Linked DNA regions of Homo sapiens: all the other regions are linked to region 2. The links are contacts of gene promoters, found by promoter capture Hi-C in blood cells and fetal thymus (Javierre and others, 2016). All regions are on one chromosome and are shown on one strand. The core of a region is centred on a gene start or on the middle of the fragment in contact, and the rest is flanking DNA. Distances in the headings are between cores, read along the strand shown.

Region 1 (4,469 bases), core at 1,173-3,672, 710 kb after region 2:
TTGTAATAATATTAATGTCATTGCTTACATCCATAACAACAAATGAAATGCACCTCTCTCCTACTATAAGAGGAGTTGTACTGTTTTAAAGGCCGTAGAGGAGATAGAAACAAAGTACTAAGAGCATTTACATACTTCTGATGAGTGGAAAGGATCCGAGAATTCACCAGCAGTTAGTTTTGCTCTGAGTCTTGAAAGATCAACGTGATATCAATTGGTAGAGAATGGAAGGAAAAACCTTCCATGCTGAGGGAACAGCCTGAGCAAAGGCATGGAGGTGTGACCATACATGACCTACTCCAGAGGAGTAGGCAGCCCACAGGGACATTGGGAGGGGTGATAGGAGACACTACTCTACCCAGAAATTCTTGACCCTCATCTGACCCCCCCCATTAGAAGGAAGAAAGTATCTGAGTTGTCGGGGGAGCCAGGAAGTGACAAATTAAACCCTGTCAAGGGAACATACTAAATGCAGTGGCATTTAGTATGCGCAATGGGGAGATCCCTTTACATAATTCTTTATCTCAAGAAAAAAGAAAAGGGAAGAGAGGAAGGAGAGAAATCCTTTGCTAGCCCAACCCAGCCCTTTCTGGGGGCGTATTCATTCATTCATTCATTCGTAGGCTTGTCAGTGTGACATTGTGTTTGCCCTCCTGAAAGCCATACATCTTACTTTCAAAACCTCCAACAGCCTTCAACCCCCTGCAGACCCCAGTGTTCCAAGGCTGACCTTTTGGTAGGAGGCTTACTCCCCTCCAAGGCTGGTGGAGGGGAGACGGCACCTCTTGTGCTCAGGCCTTCCTTGTCGCTGGCTTGTGGACAGGAGTCCTTTCTTCTCTAGGAAGGATTAGTGCTTTTCTTAAATTCGACTCTGAAGTTCTGAAAAGCCTACCAACTGTGTACTTCCACAAGCTTTTTATTTTAATTTTTATACATCTTCTTCCTTTCTTTCCAAGGTCTCTGGGTACCCCCAGAGAAGGAAAGAGACTAAGTCTTTAAGCTACTTGCAAAAATGTCTGCACACAGTTTGCCTTCATGATCCTAGAGATGGCATTTCTGGGGTTTCATTTCCTGCATGTAATATGACAGTAATGCAGACAACTGCAGAAATAGGGGACCAGGCAGGGAGGCCTGAGTTTTACTCCTGTTTGGTGGCTTTCAAGTCAGATGAAGAGGATCAATCACTCTCCATCTCTGAGCCTTTCTCTGCAAAATAGCAAAAAGGATCCTTTTCAGTATTGCTGTGATGAGGTATTTTCAGTATTGCTGTGAAAGGTGTCCAGTACCATGCTCAATAAATAGCCACTACTATGGCTAGGGTTTTCATGCGGCAGGCAATGTGAAGCTCTTCTGTGGTATTTTTATATTCAAGCCCAGCTATTTGGAGGCAAAATGGGCTCCCTCTGACAAGCTATCTAGCTCATTCCCTCCTCCCCATGGGGTGCCACAGTGCTTCTGATCCTTCTTTTGTCATTTTAAGACCATGTAAAAGCTGACATCCCCCCATCAGCCTTGCCTCATGTGTGGGTGGAGAGGCGTCAGCCCACATCATGCATGGGAGCAGTCTAGAGAGCCTACTTTGTCTGAAGTTCCCCTGGCCGGCCCCCACCGTGTCTGAGCTTTTTCCCATTAGTCATTGCTTTGGCTGAAAGAGTGGAAGACCCCTGTTAAACTGAAATATGTTATCTGGGAAATACATTAAGCCATTAACAGCTGGACACAAATTAGTTTATCAGACAGAGGCTGGGCTTGCAGAATTTAGGAGTGAGAAGGAACTTTATAGATCATCAGTTTCTTAGTGAAGAAAAGAAGGTCCACTGATGAGTAGCTCTTGCTCAAGGAAACACCAGTGGCACCTTTTGGGATGCCAGGCCTCAACCCTGCCTCCTGGCCTGAACCCCTCTTCATTCCACCTTGATGAGCAAGATGGACAGTCCAACTTTCATTCAGGAGATATTTATCATGTGGCTGCCATAGCTGGGCAGGTGCTGAAAATTCAGAGAAGCATGGGAGGCAGACATGGGAGTGTTGAGTGATTGAACGATGTGGGACAGGTCTCTTGTATGGTGGGACGGGAAAGGTCTGGAACAGAGGACACCACTCAGTGAAAGGCAGATCCAGACTCTGAGGGGTCAGCCCCACCAGGGGCTCCACAGTACCAGAACACTGGGACCCTACCTCGTGGCTACCATGAGAGTTCAAGAATGGTCATGCTCAGGGAGATAGGCTAAGCTGGCAGTCAGGGCCAGGGGATGGGTCAGAAAGCCATGAGCTGAAAAAAGAGGACAACAGCTGGAAGGCACCAGACCACACTTCAGGGCAGACCTTCATAAGCATTGTTCCATGTGGTCAACACAGACTGATCTCTTTCCGCTACTTCACATCAAAGGTCTTGGTGGAAGATTATGGAAATAGGAGGAAGGAGAAAGGTGGTAGGAGGGGTTTGGTGGATGAGGAGGTTGTGAGAAGCCACTTCTGTCTCTGCAAATCTACAGGGTCCTGACACCTGTGAACTCACAGCCATTACCCTTTGGAACCATCTGTACCATCATGCTGGTGATATCAGGCATCTCTTCCACTCACCTCTTCTTGCTTGGGTCCTCATACCCATCCCCTGCATGATTTCAACAGACATCTAATTGGTCTCCCTTCCTCCAGTCTCTACCTTTTTAAAGCTATCTTCTTGCTGTTACTAGGTCTTCTTAAAATGGGAGCTTGGACAAATCATTCCCCTATTTATAAGAATTAAGAATAGAGTGTCCTTTACAGCAATCTTGCTTGTCCCAGCCTACCAAATAACCCCATGTGATGTGAACACACAGAACCTGCCATGAACTTTCACCCCTCTACACCCTTGCACATGCTATTCCACCTTCCTGAGATGCTTCTCTCCTCTTGTCAAACCTGCCAGAAGCAGGTCAGCATCACCTCTGTGAAGTCCTTCCATGCTCCCCAGCCTTGTGCATTGTTCTTTTCTTTTTGCAGAGTTTGTGGAGGTCTTACTCTGTTGCCCAGGCTGGAGTACAGTGGAACCATCATAGCTCATTGCAGCCTTGAACTCCTGGGCACAAATGATCCTCCCACCTTAGCCTTCCAAGTAGCTGGGACTAAGGCATGCACAATCACACCTGGCTAATTTTTAAAATTTTATGTAGAGACAAGGTCTCACTATGTTGTTCAGTCTGGTCTTGAAATCCTAGACTCAAGCAATCCTCACACCTTGGCCTCCCAAAGTGCTAGGATTACAGGTGTGAGCTACCGCGCTCAGCCAGCTTTTTTCTTTATGACCCAGCTGTACACTATACAGGCCTCTTTTGTAGCACCTGTTGCATTACATTGCAACTGTTGGTGTATTTGTCCATTTTCTTACTAGACTGTGTGTGTGCATGGTAGGGACACACACATACACACAGAGAGAGACACATACCCCAGACAAGGAATCCTCCCTGATTCTCAACACCCTCGGCAAAGCTGGGTAAGTGCATCATGGTAGATGCTCAAGGAGTGTTTGCTAAATGAGCTAGAATACCTATGACCTAAGGTGTGTGAGATCTGAAGGGAAAGGTCACAGGCTTTATTCTCTTTAATTAAAGCTGAGGCAGGTACCTTCTGTATCTCCCTCCACACCTTCCCATCTCTCCTTGTACCATGAGTGGTATTTTTTCACCTTTTTCCAGCAAAGATTGGAAACTAGTTGCTCATTCAATGACTTTCTGCAGATGTATAGATCGTAAATGTTGTGGCTATCCTAGAAAGTATAATGAACCTAATGATGTTTTCCCAGAAAATGTATAAATCCCTGATCTTGCAGTATTTTCACACAATCAGGATTTTGGATTCTTTATCCAGCCACTCAACTCCAAGGAACTTTAGGCTTTAAAAAGCTGTGATAGAGATATCTTGTGTTTTGCTCTCTTAGCCAATAAGATTTGTCAAGCTTTATTTTTGGAAAAATTATTTTAGGATTTGTTTTCCAAATATATAAATATATTTTAATACAGAATATGCTTTTTCAAATGACACATGCTCTCTCATTTCTGATATGTTGTCCTAGCCTGTGCCCCTTCCCTTGAGACAGCAAATATTGCTGCCTCTGTTTCATTCTTCAGAAATGTGTGTAGAGATGTACATAGAAGGGCCTCTTGTAGTCATTCAGTCTAAGTTAGGGCCCGAGGCAGGATGTGGGATCTGCTGCCTGGGTCTGGCTCAGTCCTAGCTGTAGAGGAAGCTGCATGGACGGACACTAGGACAATCATCAACAGCCTTTCATTTGGGAAACATTTACTGAGCTCCCACTATGGGCCACACATTGTTCTGGGTACTGGGGAACAGTAGGGAAACAAAACAGACAAGGTTGTTGGAATTTGTAGTCTAGTGGGACAAGGCAGAAAAGAAACAAGAATACAGGTTAGCTAAGTTAACTCAGTAGGCAAAACAATGACGATGAGACAACAGTAATGGAGTGGAAG
Region 2 (4,719 bases), core at 1,135-3,634:
GTGAGGATATGGAAGAAAACCACTTCTGTTGTCCTCCCTCAGGGCAGGTTGGCCTTTTTATTCGTGGCACTGAACACAGTTTGCACCTGTATTTTTTTTTTTTTTTGAGATGGAGTCTCGCTCTGTCACCCAGGCTGGAGTGCAGTGGCTCGATCTCGGCTCACTGCAAGCTCCGCCTCCTGGGCTCACGCCATTCTCCTGCCTCAGCCTCCCGAGTAGCTGGGACTACAGGTGCCCACCACCACGACTGGCTAATTTTTTGTATTTTTTTTTTCAGTAGAGACGGGGTTTCACTGTGTTAGCCAGGATGGTCTCGAACTTCTGACCTTGTGATCTGCCCGCCTCGGCCTCCCAAAGTGCCAGGATTACAGGCGTGAGCCACCGTGCCCGGCCCTGCACCTGTATTTTTAAGTGTATGTCTGTTTTTTCTTTTACTTCCCTCATTAAGCTCAACATTTTTGTTGTGGTTGTTCACTATTATATCCCCAGCCTCCAACACATATCCCTTGGAGGCCATCTATTGTAATACGCTCATTTAACAAAGAAAGACAGGCTTAACGTGTACAAAAGAGTTTCCTGAATCACATGGTGAAAAGCAGGTCCAATACCAGCTCCAGTCTCCTGGGGCCCTGTCCTAGGTTTATTTCTGTTCCATGTCTACATCATTCACTATTTGTGAGGCAGTGTTGAGAAAAATCTCCAGGTGAGCACAGATGCTAAAAGAGAATCGGGCTATAGAGACTGCTTGTTGCCCCAAAAGCCATTCTCCTTTTCTCACACATAATAATTCTGAGTCTTAGATCAGAAAAAGGCCCATTTCTCAGCTTCCCTTTATGCTAATGGCACCATGTAACCATATGTGATGGTCAAGGGGAGGTGAGAGAAAGTGATATAACCAGCTACTCCTGTACTCTTTCTTTTTTTCTCTTCTCTCTGGCTGGAATGCTGATGTGTTTGGGAGCCATGTAGGACCATGAGGGTAAGGGTACCGCTTTAGGGATGGGGAAATAGAAATTGGAAGGAGCCTTGATGTTTGATGTCTTAGAGTTATCAGCCCAAGTCTAGTAAACATTCTTTTTGATTATCACTATAATAGGTTTCTTTTTAGAGAAGCCAAAATCATAAACTTACATTACACATACCTGTGTACTTATAGCTGGGAGTACCTATGTACTCCCAATCCCTTTTTTTCCCAACCACATTCCATTCTCAAGGCATTTATGATGATAGTGAGAGACTAGTCCAAAGAAGTGACACTAGATGGGAAGGTCAAACAATTAAAAAAAAGGGAGGTGATAGAATGAGAAATTGATTCAATCACATTAATAGAGAAAGTCTCAGGAAAGACAAACTGAGAAGAGGCTATGGGAAGAAATGGACTTTCCTATTTGCTATTAGGATCTCATGTCCATCCTTCTCTACCTGCCTTTGCATCCTGGGAGGAGACATGTCTGTGCCTCGTCAATGGGCTGTCTTTCACTCAGGCTCCAAAGGGTACACATTGACAGGAGATTGGAGGGTGACTTTTTTTTTCAGCCAAAGGGACACATTGACAGTAGATTGGGGGATGATTTTTTAAAAATTTCCTGGCTCTCTCCCTGCGCCCTGAAGGGCTGTGAGTTGGCAGTGGCAGTGTTTTTCTACCTAAGGACATAGCCCTGCCTGGTGGCCCTTTCCTGTAGCCACAGCTATAGTTACAGTTACAGTTACCGCTACAGCACATTCTGAGTTCTCAGAACTTCTCTTTCTCCTTATCACTTCAGACCTAGCAACGGTAACAGCCCTCCACTATCACTTGCCTTTGAGGGCTTCATCATTCCTTAATCCCTGTTCACGCCGTTGTAAACAGTCTCTTCACTAAACTCCTCTAAACTACCCCTTTAGAGTGTGTGATGTGTGTTTTCTGCTGGGACAATGACAGATATGAAGGAAAAACCTTTTGAATAACAAGAAAATCAGTGCAACCTGAGGTTTTAAATAACAATTTAGCTTAGGGAAGTAATGACTTCATTCTAGCCTGCCCCTAAATTAAAATCAGCAAAATCTTTCTCTCCATAGTTTCAGATTTGAATGGTCGAAGAGAAGGGGAGAATATTGGTAGATAGAAGAGAAGTGGGACGAACCTGCTTGACCCCATTCGGATCTCCCAGCATCTAAGCTGCCAGCATCCAAAGCTTCCTCAAAGGAGCTTCCTGTCTTCTTTTCCTAATGAATTCATCAGGATGTGGACTAAGGTAAAAACCAAAACTGCCTTTGAAAGAAGATGGTTCTTGAACAAACTCTTACCTTAACACCCTTCTTTCTACTGGAGTTGGTGAGTTGAGAAGTGCTTTCCTGGGACTGGCAAACAGCTGAGGATGGGGAGATGCCTGCAGGATCTGGAGTGAAACCTGATGACTGAGTGAAGCTTATCAAGATGCTCAACAACCCTGTGATTTCCTGTACAGAGGGTGCTGGAAAATAAGAGTATGACACAGGAAACCACATGAGATGTTTCTCAGCATTTGCCCTGACTCCAATCACTTATCTTGGTTTCTCCCCTACCCTCTCCGGCCCCACTCCCTGCAAGGAATCACCGTCCTGAAGTCTTTCATTGCCCACAATGAGCATCCAGGAAGCAGACCAATCAAGCGACGTGAGCTTTCATAGCTAAAGAATAGTCTGCCCTCTTCTGCTTGGCATTCAAGGCCCTGGCTTACTTGACCTTTCAAAATCAGGTTTATTTCAAATGACACTAAGGTGTATAAAATGAAATGCAAAGTCTCTCGAAGTCTCATTCCCCAAAAGCAACCACTGCATACAGTTTCCATTCTTTTTTTTAAAAAAGCTTTGCGTAATAAAACAACATTTCTATTTTTGATTTATCGATGTTAACAACTAGATATATTGAGTCTCCTTATAAAATATAGGGGACTTAGCACATCACATGCACCATCTGTCACGTTTCTCCCTCTACATCATGATATTTATTAGCTAGATTATTTTTAGATCATCTAGAGCCAACCAATATTTTCAGCCTTATCTCCTATGACTTCCTTTCATGTGCCTATGCTGCAGCCAAATTGAGTTATAAGTAACAATTATGAAGCATTTAAGACAATCAGAAGAAATTATTCACTCATTTATTCATTCATTCAACACTGTTTATTGTTTGCCTATGATATGTCAGGTACCGTTCCAGGCAATGAAGACACAATGATGAACACCATACAAGATCATGCCCCTTTGCATTCCAGAGCAGCTGGGTGACCTCAGACAGGGAACATGTGTTGATTGAGGCGAGTTCTGAGACTCAGCATTTTCTTGTATTATACTTTGGTGCAGTGGGTAAACCATGCATTTGTCCCCAGAAATCTGCTTTCCTCATGAGCAGCAGCAGGACCTTAGAAAGCTTTAACTTCTGTTACTGTCTAACCTACTGTGCTCTATTATTTGATTTTGATTCTGTTTCCCTCCAACAAATGAAACACTTATTATTGTTTTAAATAGTCAGTGTTTATTCAGATTTATCCACATAATCACCAATGCTTTTGCTCATCCTCCCATTTTACATCTCATATCTTCCATTTCTCAAAACACATTCTTCAGGAGTTCCTTCTGTGAGAGTCTCTGCATGGTAAATGCCTCCTTTTATCTATCTGAAAATGTCATTGTTTCACCCTCGTCTTCTAAAGATGGTTTTTCCAGGCATGGCATTGTAGGGTGATAGTTTCTTTCTTCCAGCACATTGAAGATCCATGTTCTGACTGCCAGGGTTACTGTTGCGGCCATCAGTCAGGTTGCCATTTGCTTGTGGTGATCTGCCTTTTTTTCCTCTAAGAGCTTTTATTTTTCTCTGCTATGATACATTCTCACCAAATTGTATCTGGTGACTCTTTTTCAAATCATGTTTGGGATTTGTGGAGTTTCCTAGATTTTAAAATTATCATCATTTAACATTTTTAAACAATTTAATGCTATAATCTCTTTAAATATTAACATAACGGTGAAGAACACAAGACCAGGCTACTTGGCATTTCTCCTATGGGACCTTAGCCAGATTTTGTAACTCTGTTATGTTTGTTTCCTCATCAGTAAAATGGGGATAACATTATTAATCTATAGGTTTGCTGTGAAGATTAATAATTTAATGTATATAAATGATTTACAATAGGAGCACATAGTAAGTACTATAAAATTATTAGCTCTCATTATCACTTTTAGTATTATCTCTTTCTGGAAGTCTAATTCAACATATGTTAGCCCTCTTCTTCTATCATCCTTATTTCTTTAACCTTTTCCTTATGTCTCGTCTCTGTCTCTGAGGCTGCTTTCTGGGTAATTTCTTCAGATGTATCTTCCAGTTAACTAGATTCTTTCCATTGTGTCTAATCATCTGTTTAATCTATCCACTGAAGTTTAAATCCAATTTTTATATTACTAATTTCTAGAAGTTCTATTTTATTTTTTTAAAATTATACTTTAAGTTATGCGATACATGGGCAGAACGTGCAGGTTTGTTACCTACGTATACACATGCCGTGGTGGTTTGCTGCATCCATCAACCCGTCATCTACATTAGGTATTTCTCCTAGTGCTATCCCTCTCCTAGCTCCCCACCCCCTGAGAGGCCCCAGTGTGTGATGTTCCCCTCCCTGTATCCATGTGTTCTCATTGTTCAACTCCCACATATGAGTGAGAACATGCAGTGTTTGGTTTTCTGTTCCTGTGTTAGTTTGC
Region 3 (4,674 bases), core at 109-2,608, 750 kb after region 2:
TGTAGGTTTTGGAGAGGAAGAACACAGAGGTAAAGTGACATTTTTCATCCCATCCTATCAGGGTCATGCTATCAACATGACTTGCTAATGTTTATGTTAACCTCGATCACCTGGCTGAGATAGTGTTTGGCCGGTATCTTCACTGTAAAGTTACTCTTTCCCTTTTTTCCATGTTTTACTCTTTGTGCAGCCCACACTTAACCTTGAGAGCAGAACATCTACATACTTTATTTGAAATTCTATTTACATGGAAGATTTTTCTCTTCTATTTATTTAGTCAATCATTTCTTTGTGGCAGTATCAATTATTTCACACTTTGACTTATAATCCAATACTACCTTATTTTGTTGCTCAAATTATTTTGAGCTTGGTCAGCTTTGGCCATTGGGAGCTCTTTCAGTTGGCTCCTGTGTCACTTTGACATACTCCATCATTGTGTTTTGGAGTGGGGATATATGCCTACATTTTGGCACTATACTGTGCTCCAGGCTTATTTTAAATTCTTCCTGCCCCAGTCCAAGAATCATTTCTCCAAGGATCCCTGGTTCTTTTGGTTGGAGAATGCTATTGAAACCAAGATCAGGGGCTAGATCTGCTTGTTGCTACTGGGCTGTTGTTATTTTTAGAACTTTTCAGCTGAAAGAACAAGGATATGTACACGTATCTACGAATATCCTATCTAGATTCCTTTACGCTGACATGCTATATAGATCAGTATGTAATTTATACTGATAAACTATACTATAGTTTATAAACTGAAAGCAGTTTTTAGTTTCTATAGAGTCTTCAATTCTAATCCATTACCACATGGCTCATCCTAGCCTTCCATCTTTGTTCATCTGTAAGCTTTCACTCCAACAGTGAGAACATCCTGTGAAGCTTGTTAATAAACACACCTGGGCCTGGGCCTTATGGCCTGAGGTTGAGGTAGATGCCCACCTGGGATTTTGGCATCTGTATTTTAATAAGCTCTACACAGATTGAACTCTCCCAATATAGGCTGTCACAATGCCATATATTTCTCCTTTGTACCTTTTGTCACCGTTTCCCTTTGGCATCTTTTTATAATATCTTTATTTGACATCCTTATTTGATTAATATCTGTCAACTCCCTCAAGACAATAGGCTCTGTGTCAGTTTTGCTCATCATTCTGTCCTCAGAAAGGGTGCATTGTAGGTATTTATTAAATATTTGTTGAATGAATGGGTGGAATGACACACAGCAACACTGAGGAGGAAGAGAAAAATGTGTGTGATTTATCGAACTCTTCCTACATGCTAAACGGCTGTCTAGTTGCTTTCTAAATATTATCCAGTTCAGGGATTTGAATCAGGTCCGGCTGACATCAGAATCCACACCCTTTCTGTTGTGGAGTTCCTGCTGGTAGGAAGCCTCTTGTCTTCTGCTTTGCATGTCATGGGCTCTCCTACTGGACTGGATGGAGCTGTGTGGGTGGCCAAGGAGGAGGTCAGAGGGGGAGAAATGGCAGCACCCATTTAGAGTGTCACCCAGGCCTCATTAGGAAATTGACTCCCATTTGGTTTGGGAAGGGGGGTGTTTTTTCCTGCCTTTTCATGCTCACAATGAAGGTGACATTGATTTACAAGTCAGTGGGTTGGAGCAGGGAAGGGAGGCTTCTATGGGTGGAAAAGATCAATTAAATGATTATCCCAGCTGCCACACACTAATGCCTTTCTTACTGAGTTTCAAAATCAGGAAGCAGAAGGTTACCACATTTAGCCTTTTACAGGAAATCTAATTGCCAACCTTGTGGTGCCAAGGTTTATTAGATTGGGAAGAGTTGCTCTTAGTGGCTGGCAGTTTCTGGCATGACAGAAAGCTTTCCACTGGCCACCTGGAATTGTAAATGACTGCCTCCTCTTCCTTTTTGCGTGCTTTTGCTAAAGTTTTATGCAGATAGCCTTTTGTGATTTTTATCTTTTTGTGATTTTTATCTGGATTCTAGGGGGATGGTACTTAAGCTTGGTAAGCAGTCAAAAAAAATATTTATTCAATTCCTACTATGTGCTATGCCCTGGTCTAGTGGCTGAGAACTGCAGTGGTGAGCAAAACAGATACGCGTTGTCTTTAGAATCCTTTGCCTGGAATGGTCTTCCTATGGCTTAGTGGTTCCCAGACTGTAGTATGCATGAGGACCACCAGAATGCTTGTTCAAACCCAGTCTGCTGATTATTTTTTCCATCGCCTTTCCATGGTCCTGTCCACATTGAAAAAAGGCAATCTCAAGAGCAGACCAGAATTCAGTCCAGCAAGCAACTCTTGCACAAATTGCACGGCTAAGCTGCCACCCCCCACAATTTCTGATTCAATAGGCCTGGAGTGGGGCCTGATAATCTGCATTTATGATGAGTTCCCAGGCCATGCTAATGCTGCTGGTCTGGGAGAACCACCCCCTGAGCCTTTGCATGGTTGCTCTCTTCTTATCAGTTGGGTCTCTAATCAAATATTACCTGCTTAGAGAGGCCATTCTTGATTTCCCAACCACATTATCCCTCCACTCCTGGCCATTCACTCTCTAATGCATCTTCATAGCATTTATTATTCTCTAATATTAGTTTGCTTATTTTTTATTACCATTTTGTCTCTCTCTCCTACCTCTCATCCTCAGTAGAATAAAGCCTCATGAGAGCACTTCCTTAGACACTGTTGAATCCTCTAAGATTATCAGAGTACCAGAGTATGTGCTCAATAAATACCTGAATGAATTAAATAATTACAAGAGTAATGAGTCATATGAAGGAAAGACCTAAGATGCCTTGGTAGTGTAACAGGTAGACCTAAGGTGGAGCAAAGATATTGCATTTCATCCTACTTGGAGCAGTTTCTAGATGTGGCCTTAACACCTGATTTAAACACTGCATACCAGAGTTTTGTCTTCAAGGTTACAGGCTGTGGGATTTGTCTGCGATCATAGCAGGCCACTCTGGATTTGCTTAGTTTTTCCATCGCCTTTCTATAGTCCTGTCCACAATGAAAAAAGGCAATCTTAAGAGGAGACCAGAATTCAGTCCAGCAAGCAACTCTTGCACAAATTGCATCATGAAGTTGCCAGGCCCCTATCTCTGAGCTTGGCAGGAGGCAAGGCCTGAAATTTACTTCTTCTAATAACCTTCCACCTGAAGCCTATACTCATTCCCTTGTTGGAATCTGGAATCCGGCACCCATGCCAATGTCTCGGTAGCCTTTTCATAACCTCTACAAAGTTGAATGAAGGCTCAAACTCTTCTTTGCAGGAGTGAGACCTTTCGATGAAACATGTAGATTCCTCTCCTGCACTGGCCTTTTAGAGAAATGTAAGGGCAGGCACTGTTGTTTTTTCTTTTCAACAGAGTCAAGCAAAAGATGAGGCACATGGAGGCACCATGCGACTAAAAGCTCTGAGGATGATTGTCAAAACCCCACTGGAGGAGTTGGAAAGCATGTAAGGTTTTGCTCTTGTGTGGCCTCAGCAGCCACTGCCTGGTTCAAGTGAAGTTTGCACAGTCCCTTGGCCTAGAGCTTCATGCCCAGCTTTTGCCAAGCGTGGGCCAAGTGGGGGAATGATTCCCCAGGTTTGTTTGCCTGGGGCAGCCAAAGAAACAGTGATTTATTTCCCCTGAGTGTGTCATGAAAATGTAAGCACCGAGAGTTGGATTATTTTGGAGGGTGAGAATTTGATGGGGGAGATGGAGATGGAAGAATTGCAGCAGTTTGGAGTCAGGGCTGGGGGCCAGAGGGCCGCCCAGTGGGTTGGGGTAACATAAGCTGCCGCTATTCAGGAGGTGGCCTGTGTAAGAAAATCTGACCACAGCGGGTGCGTGACTTCAGCTAAAATTAACCTTGGAGGCTTCACACGCTTCCACAGTGCTTTGAACTAGACACTCCCAGAGAGGGCATGGGACGTTGACTGCTGAGGACTGCGCTGCTGCTGTGGGTTGAGCCATGCCTGTAAGCATCAACTTATGGGTTCCCGCTCGGGGTCAAAGTCGGGATTCCTGTGACCATTATAAAGTGGTAAGCAACCTCCAGGGATGTTGGCAGGGTCTCTGGGGAGAGACAATGAAGTTTATTTGAATTGGACTTGTGTTTAGAGATGGTTTCAATTTATTTTCTATGCAGAGCAGAGACCACGAGCCCTCCAAGCAGGACTTTCATCTGTGGAAAGCTAGAAGAGCTAACTGCCACCTTTGTGCTGCTTTTTTGTTTCATATGTCCGCCCAGGGTGAGGGCTGGGTGGTGTATTTTTAGAGCAGGTAGAGAAAGATCTGTCTGGACATTGTTGGTGGCCTGAGAAAATACAACTGCATAAACCAAAGGCCAAGCTGAGGAAGCTGAAATTGGGAAGGTCCTGGATGTCAACAGGTGTGGCAGGTTTCGCTTGTTTTCTTAATTGTGGGCCTCAGCAGGTGCAAAAGAGTTGGAGGAGATGCCAGGGAGTACTCCTGAGGGCTTCATTGAAGGAGGGACTTGCTTGGGGGAAACTGGAAGCAATTTCCTGTTCAGTGAGACCCATGGATGTCCCGGGAAGGGCCCACTGCCCTCTCCCTCCCCTGGCCAGGGTGACCTGAATGGTATCATTTAAGCTGGAAGGCATCTGTACCCATGGCTTTCCACTTGCTGCCGAGAATCCATTTGGGAGCATGCATTCACAGAGCAAAAAGGCAAGATGCATT

What was found. The method cuts DNA at HindIII sites, captures the fragments that hold promoters and counts their contacts. A CHiCAGO score of 5 or more calls a contact.
Region 1: a fragment that was not itself captured here is called in contact with the fragment with the promoter of MRGPRX2 in region 2 in 1 of 17 cell types (M0 macrophages); the score reaches 5.3 in M0 macrophages.
Region 3: a contact is called between a fragment that was not itself captured here and the fragment with the promoter of MRGPRX2 in region 2, in 1 of 17 cell types (M2 macrophages). The highest score is 6.1, in M2 macrophages.

Annotation. Positions count from the first base shown.
Region 1 is chr11:19,771,207-19,775,675 of GRCh38, forward strand. The region is part of intron 1 of NAV2 (neuron navigator 2); the gene reads left to right. Among named protein-coding and RNA genes, the nearest start is that of MIR4694, 13 kb to the left of the region's middle. RefSeq lists enhancers at 951-1,458, 1,459-1,967. The HindIII fragment of the contact is 3,025 bases long and covers 911-3,935 here.
Region 2 is chr11:19,058,333-19,063,051 of GRCh38, forward strand. MRGPRX2 (MAS related GPR family member X2) reads right to left here and starts at 2,385. Exons shown (of 2, transcript NM_054030.4): 1 at 2,287-2,385. The HindIII fragment of the contact is 233 bases long and covers 2,173-2,405 here.
Region 3 is chr11:19,809,841-19,814,514 of GRCh38, forward strand. The region is part of intron 1 of NAV2 (neuron navigator 2); the gene reads left to right. Among named protein-coding and RNA genes, the nearest start is that of MIR4694, 52 kb to the left of the region's middle. The HindIII fragment of the contact is 962 bases long and covers 878-1,839 here.